2 separate regions of the Homo sapiens genome follow, and region 1 is linked to region 2. Evidence: promoter capture Hi-C in 16 types of primary human blood cells and fetal thymus (Javierre and others, 2016). All regions are on one chromosome and are shown on one strand. The core of a region is centred on a gene start or on the middle of the fragment in contact, and the rest is flanking DNA. Distances in the headings are between cores, read along the strand shown. Region 1 overlaps USP3 (ubiquitin specific peptidase 3). Region 2 holds the start of RAB8B (RAB8B, member RAS oncogene family).

What was found. Contacts are between HindIII fragments. The CHiCAGO score rates a contact against its expected background, and 5 or more counts as called.
Region 1: a contact is called between a fragment that was not itself captured here and the fragment with the promoter of RAB8B in region 2, in 8 of 17 cell types (fetal thymus, naive CD4 T cells, activated CD4 T cells and 5 more). The highest score is 10.1, in fetal thymus.

What each region holds. Positions count from the first base shown.
Region 1 is chr15:63,507,858-63,511,838 of GRCh38, reverse strand. All of the region lies in intron 1 of USP3 (ubiquitin specific peptidase 3), which reads right to left. Among named protein-coding and RNA genes, the nearest start is that of USP3, 5.3 kb to the right of the region's middle. The HindIII fragment of the contact is 168 bases long and covers 2,006-2,173 here.
Region 2 is chr15:63,187,416-63,191,041 of GRCh38, reverse strand. It overlaps RAB8B (RAB8B, member RAS oncogene family), which reads right to left and starts at 1,436. Exons shown (of 8, transcript NM_016530.3): 1 at 1,294-1,436. The coding sequence starts at 1,417. It overlaps LOC101928972 (a long non-coding RNA gene), which reads left to right and starts at 1,611. Exons shown (of 4, transcript XR_932355.4): 1 at 1,611-2,196. RefSeq lists a silencer at 1,352-1,681 and an enhancer at 1,862-2,011. The HindIII fragment of the contact is 3,523 bases long and covers 1-2,798 here.

The DNA.
Region 1 (3,981 bases), core at 840-3,339, 320 kb before region 2:
GCAAAGATTTCAAATAATCTCTGAGCTACCAGAAGCAAATGCAAAATTCTATACCTTAAGAATTCTCTCCTTCCTCCACCCTACAACAAACCACCTCCAAGAAGAATCTTCTCTAACAGAAACAAAATGAAAAAATAAGGGGGGTGGAGAGACTTCAATAACTGAAACCCATTTTAAAAATAACCAAAAGCTAATTGCATTTTATCCATAGCTATAGTGAGGAGGCTGGTTTATTATGTCTGAACTAATGCAATATGAATTTCGGCCTATAAAAATATTAGATCTGAGTATAACAAGGTTGACATTTAAAATAGTTGTTTCTTCCAAACTATATCACCAATTCCTTGTTCCAACTTGCCAGCACTTTCAATATTAAATTGGGTGAGGGGGGTAACAAAAGACCAAATTTTAAAATAAGTAATTTTTGAGATGTGGAACTTAAAATATATTTTCATATCAAAAATCTTCAAAGGAATTATTTAAAGTATGTGTTCCAAACATTTTGTATTTTTTAAATTGTCAAGCATTAAGTTACTGAATAACAAAATAAAGACTCTTTTTTTTTTTTTTTTAAGAAAAAGCAAGCTAAAAGTCTGAACAGTGTTAGAGTTTAAGCTTTGGGCTATCTTTAATACTCCCCAAGCATCTTGGGCAACTCGTAACCTTTGTCTCAGTTTCATAATCAATAAAATAGGAAAAACTACAAGGATGAATAATTAATTAAATTAGTCAGGATTAAATGCTAGCAAACTGCTTTGAAGTTACTTTATGTTGTTCTCAGTTATCTTCCTACTCAGTAAAACTAATAGATGAGAAAACATCTGGAATTACTATAGATAATCACATCTGCAGACTCACAGCAGTTAAAAAGACGATCTCTACAAATTTCTAAGCCAAAGTTCATTCAACGACCCCAAAGATTTTAAGATACAACCACAATGAACAATTTTAGGTGAATTTCTTTTCAGTCTCAAGGACACCTATTCTTACCTACATTCTCAAAAGAAACCACTACACAGAAATCTCAGAGCATCTTGAGGGGTCTTGGCACAAGACAATTCTAGGTAAGATGAACAAGCTGTTACTGTTGTTAATGCTATTCTCAGCATTCTAAACTGTCAATCAAGGTAAGCTTAATCACAAACACACCCTCCAAAAAGTACTAGCCCCTACTGAGAACCCATCAAAGTACTTCCTTCCAAGCCATCTGTCCAGGAAAGCTCTATTAACACACCTAGAATGCAATTGCTCTCCTGTCTAAAGAGGCAATGAATAAACATAAAATATCAAAATATGTTAAACAGCATACCTTTTCCACTTCAAACAATGATAATCTACCGACTAAATCTATTTATTTCAATGCCTTGGTTGAACACAAACCTGTATGTATGTAGGTCAGAGACTGCAGCTTAATCAAAGGAGACTAACATTTTGTTTTCAAAGAAGGAAAAATATTAAAAACAAACAAACAAGCTCAAGAAGGGGAGAAAAGCTCAAAAAGAAAAAAAACGAGCAGGTTAGGTTAGGGGAAATGTACATGTTAATCAGCTCCTGATGGAAGAGGGACTCAAATTTTAAAACAGGAATTTAAATGACTCACTGAGCTACACACTAAATTACTCACTGGTCTACTCACTGAGCTGCAAACACTATAAAAACATAAGTATTTCTAAATCTAGCTTGAAGGATCCAAAATCAATCTTTTATATTCCAGTGGAGAAGGAAATTACATACATTTCAATGAGGAAAAAGGAGGCTGTTACACGAGCCTAAGGCTAATGGTGTACAAGCAAAGAATGAGAATAAATTATTTTGAGGATAAATAACAGGAAACCACACCAAAGAGTTCGAATTCTTCCCCCAACTCCATCATTTCTTCTGCTTAGACCATGAAGGATGTTCTGTATACACTATTAAGCATATTATTAGGGAAAGAACTTCTCATCAATGTGTCAAAACTTCTTCACAACAAGTAAATGTTAGGCTCAATCTCTATACTGAAGCTTCTTTAAACAAAACACATACATGGAGCACATTCTAAATTTCACACATTTCACATCCATGAGCAATCATTTAGAGACTCTAGAAATAAGCTGAGATTGCTCTAAGATTCTGGGGGACGGGGTTGGGGAGGAATACTGCAGAAAGACTAGAAAGACATTTGACTTAAGCTTTATAAATATTACCAAAAAAGTTTAAATTCTTCAGAAGGATATATAAAACTCAAATACTACTTTTTAGAATTAATGTGAAAAAAGTATCACCTGTCCACTGATTTTTAACTACCCCATCCACATTTACAACTAAATTGTCCACCTGCCCATCTATAAATACAGACTGCCAAAAGAACACAAATTCATTGTGATAACAACACTGCAGATGGTCATTTGCTCACAATCCAGCCAACGTTTACTGACTAAAATACTGGGAGTGCGGGCTAGTGAAAGCATTCTGGGGAAAGTTCACTCTGCGTTTATTTTCAACATAAAGACCCTGCCAGACACATCTAAGTGATAGTTCCTTTATTTATCAGGCAAATATTTACTAATTGCTCTATTAAGTATTAGGCACTTAATAAAGACATCATAGAATGTTACTAAAAAGCAGTAAAAGCATTTGACCTAATGACAAGGAAATGACTGATTGTATTTAGAAAATTTAGTCCACTGGGCAAACGAGTGTTAAATGTAGGTTGTGGAGAAATACGATACAAAATAACCCATCACTCCATCAAGGTTGATTTCTTCTCTTTATCACAACCTGATCAGTCCATTACAAATTTATTACCACTGACAACCAATAATCAACACCTCATCCTACTGAATGGATCTCTTAAAAAAGGGTTTATCTCCAGTATTTTGGGTGGAATTATCTGCAGTTTTTGGTGCAAAATTGCAGAACATTTACTTGATCTACACTTACTTTTCTTGGGTAGAGTAATATGAAGGCAAGTGTGTACTGAAAACTTAAAGAGGCACTCTCAACTCATTGAAGAATTAATCAGGGAAAAATTAGCATGCCTATCCTACTAAATATCTCTAATTTAACTGGCTGTTTAACCCAAACCCTCAAGTTCAAATGCTTGGTCCTTGGCTTTCCTTAGTTATCAAAACACTTGCATTCAGGGCATCTTTTTAAACAATTTTTGTTTTTTCCCACTGGTTAAACTCTTTTACCCACAAAAATAAGGAATGCCCAAGCCTCCAACTTCTGAAAATAACATCTGGTATGTGCACATAACAAAAAGCTTGAGAGAATGCCCTTTTATTTAAAACTTTTTCATTTTAAACTAGAATCCCTTAAGCAACAATTAGACATAAATCAGCCTTTACGTTATTAGGAGATAGCTATTTTCAACATTTACCTTAAACCACATGGATGTATCTTCTAACTAGTTAGCTTCCTGTCTCTCCCCCAGCTAGATTAGACTGTTAACTTTTTTGGCAGCAAAGGACTACTAGAGCCCATGCTCTATTTCCCAGCTAATACATTTCAAAAACCTCAGGTCTCTACAGAAACATAAACGTTGGTAGCCTTAAGGATTTCTCTAATTTTTTAAAGTTATTTTGATATGAGCAGGTATCCTTAACTGTTAACTATAGCTTACACAAGTGGGTTCTCAAAGTGTGGTCCTGGACCCCTGAAAGTTTCCAGGACCCATTCAGGGGATCCAGAAGGTCAAAACAATTTTCATACATAATATTTAAGATGTTACTTTTGTTTACAGTCATTCTCTCACAAGCATGCAGTGGGGTGTTCCTGAGGCTGCATGATGTGACATCTCAAGAGACTGAATGCAGAAGCAATGTAAGAATCCAGCTGTCTTCTATAAAGCTGAACAAAGAGTTACAAAAAGGCAAAATAATGCCATTCTTCCCACTAAATTTTTGTTTTGAAAAACATTTTACATAAACTGTCAATTTATGTTATGGGTGTGGGTCTATTATTATTTGTAAGCATATTAATAAATACATATTTTAA
Region 2 (3,626 bases), core at 187-2,686:
CAGCTTAAAACCAGCTTTGACTTGGTCTTCAGTTTATGATAAGTTAAGAGATCTTATTACCTGAACACAGTGTCTTCCAGTACAAAAGTAGAAAGGACAGCTCCCAGCCAGGATCAGAAAAACTCTTGATTCAATTGGAAGTAACTGAGAGGTATATCACATGTTGTGATTCACTTAACAATAATTAGAACCAAAGCAAAATATACAGGGAGGCAGGTAGAATGTAAGTTCATTTCCTTGGCTGAGAAGCTGTTAAACATTCAAACCGAAGGATTTAAAATACTGAGAAGTCTTGCTTCTCAGGAGATGGTAGTAAAGAGGTGAACCATATTTTCCTGACCACATCATTTCCAAAAGTCACCAATTCCCTTAACATCCATTAACACTCACAGAACAAATTAACGCTCTATAGACATTATTCCATCATTAGTCACATTTTGCTTTCTCCTGCACTTGATCCAAAGGAAGTGAAGAGAAAATGGTAATCAGTTACTATAGCAAGTCTTGCGCCCCACTACTTTCCATTTCCTCTCTTTTCCATCTCCTCTGTCTTCTCTGCTCAACCTCCCTTTACTATGATGTTGCTTCCTCTTTTCCTTTCTGTCTCACACCCAGATCCCTTTACTTTCTCCATCAAGTATCCTCATTCTGCCCTCTGATCCCTTGAACTCTTCTTCCACCTACAATTTTCTTCTGTCCCCTCCTACGACATCTCAGTCCAGACCTCCTGTGGCCAGCCGTCCCCTTCTTCCTCACCTCCTGACCGCTCATTCCCCTGAATTCCCTTCCAGTTGCCTGGTTCTCACCTCTCTGTCCCTTGTGTCCTCTGTCCCTTTACTTCACATCCCTCTCATTGCCCCCATCCCTCATTTCCCCCTTCACATTTCCTTCCTCTCCTGTCTTTTAATCATTGGCACGTCCACTATCCCCTTCTCTCTACATGAGATTTCCTGAGTCTTCCCCCCAACACATTTTGTCCCTCAAAGACCCCTCCCTGTCAGTCTCCGAACCCTCTCGTTCCCCCAATACCCCTAGTCCTTGTTCCTCTGTTCCCCTTCCCGTTCCTTTGCCCCCAAGTTCCCCCTTCGCCCTTAGCCTCACGTTCCCGCTCGCCTCTCTCCCTCACGCCCTCGCCCCTCTCCCTCACGCCCTCGCCCCTCTCAGTGCCCCCGCCACCTTGCAGTCCCCGGGGTCTCCTCTCCCGGGCTCCCAAGCGCCCCCCGCCCTTTCCCCGTCCCCTAGTACCCGCCCCCCAATTCTCTACCCGGTCCCGGGCCGCGGCCCCTCCCTCACCGATGGTGGAGATGAAGGTGGTGTTGAAGGCGTCCTCTGAGAAGCGGAACAGGAGGCAGGTCTTGCCTACCCCCGAGTCGCCGATCAGCAGGAGCTTGAAGAGATAATCGTACGTCTTCGCCATCTTCTCGCTCCGGCCCTCTGACCGGGGAGCCAGAGGAGGCGGTGGAGAGAGGCGGGGAGGGGGCCGCGGGCGAGGGGGCGTGCCCGCCAATCCGCCGCTGCTCGCCCCGCCCCACGCCCCGCCCCTCCTCTCGGAGAAGGCCTGCGCGCCCCGCCCCGTGCGGCCAATCGGCGAGGGCTTCGTCATCACCGCCCGCGCCCCGGGACTTCATGGGACTTGTAGTTCCTCCGGGGAGCCTCGGGCGTGCCCCGCGAGGACTGTCCAGGCGGCTCCAGCGGATAAAAGACCTGCTATGGGCGGGGTGACAGGGTGGAGGCGTTTCCACCCGAGCTGGGAAGGGAGGCCCCGTTTCGTACTCTGCTGGTCGAGCCGCGGGAACTTAACTTTGTTATTTCTTTGTGTGCAGACGCCTTCCAAATCCAGGACCTCAGAATCAGAGCCCCGTAGTTCCCGCATCTCTTCCGCCGAGACCTGGAGCAGAGATGCTTTCTTTCCTTGGCGCTGCTGTGGCGCAGCCTACGGGTTATCTGCAGAGGGCATTATCCAGCTTCTCCCCGAGGCCATGCCCAGCACCACTATAACCCCCTCCCGCAGCCCCTCAGTCACAGAGCTGAGAAAGAATGGTTACCATGCTAACTCGAACCTCACTCGTGCCCCCTTCTTCACGCCACACAGACCAGAGCCAAATACAATGAGTATTTAGAGAATCTGCTACGCTGATCGCTCCCCTCTCCTCGCAGGAGGATGGATTTTTAAATCTGGGAAGTCTTGTGCTACAGGTCTGTGCCCCATGAAACTGCAAGCATCCTGTGAGGCGGGCCACGGGAATTTAGAGAGTAAGATTTGAATTTAGTCTTGGCTCTGCTGCAAAACCGCTGTGACAAGTCACACAGGCACTGGACATTTCAGTTTTCTCATCTGTAAAATGGATATGAAACAAGATACTTCATAGGGTTCCAGTGAAACTTAAATACTAAATGTGAAAGTTCTTTGAAACCCATAAGGCACTGTTAGCAGTGATGGTAATATTCATTACTCTTCAGTAGGCTCTCACTTAATTGATGACGAATATAGGGAGGAAACAGCATTCTGTTATACTCAAGTTAATCCTTTATTATTTATTGTCTTAGGCTAATTCTCTGTTTTGTGGATGTATTGTTCAGTCCCCTTTCATTTGCTAGTGGCAGAAACCCAACCGGATTAGCTGTTGTGAAAGGGGTGTTGACTGGTTCAGGTAATGTGGAAGCAAAAGGCTAAGAAGGTGTGGGACTAGGAGTCCACCCTGCCAGGGCTCTGTGTCTCTCATCTGTTGTTCTCCCTTCGAAGTTTTAATTTCTAATATGTCAAATACCGACAGGTAAAACCCACATGAAAAAAAGCTTCTTGGAGTCTTCAATAAGTTTTAAGAGGATGAAGGGGTCTTGAAACCAAAGTATTTGAGAACCACTGGTCCAGACATTTACCTTAGCTATAAGGAAACACCTTCTGGAAGGCTAGAGGTTATTAAGGGAACCAGTGGACTCCACCATTAGTGGAATAAGAAAAGGGGGGGGGGGAAAAACCGTGGACAGTTAGTTGAACAAACCAGCAGGCTTTTCTAAGGACACATACTGTGTGCCTTGTGACTTTAGGAACAGTGCCACTGATAATCCATTCTCAGTTGCATTGTGGCAGAAGACTTAGTTGGCCCTAGAATTGGCCTTCATTTTCTATGCGGGTAAAAGATGAAATGTGTCATCATTAACTGATTGATCATACAGTAGCCAGAGGGCTGCTGCTGCTGCTGCTGCTGCTTACGGAATGTCTCATTCCTAGAGTCCACTAGATAGGAACAAAGCTCTAATGAGTTCAAAGTCACAGTGTCTGCCCCTAATGAAGAAGGATTCTGCCCTCTGGCACAGGCTGAGCCCTCTTGCCCAAGCCAGTCCTTGAGCAAGCCTCTGAACGTGGCTTCAGCCATGATCTGAACAGTGTGGATTGTTCTATATCTTCCTCCTCATTCCTGGAAAAGAAGGGGAAAAAATTCCGCAAAGACCAGTGGAATTTATTTCTTTTTAAAAATGTATATTTATGGCCAGGCGCGGTGGCTCACGCCTGTAATCCCAGCACTTTGGGAGGCCCAGGCGGGCAGATCACGAGGTCAGGAGATCGAGACCATCCTGGCTAACACGGTGAAACCCCGTCTCTACTAAAAGTACAAAAAATTAGC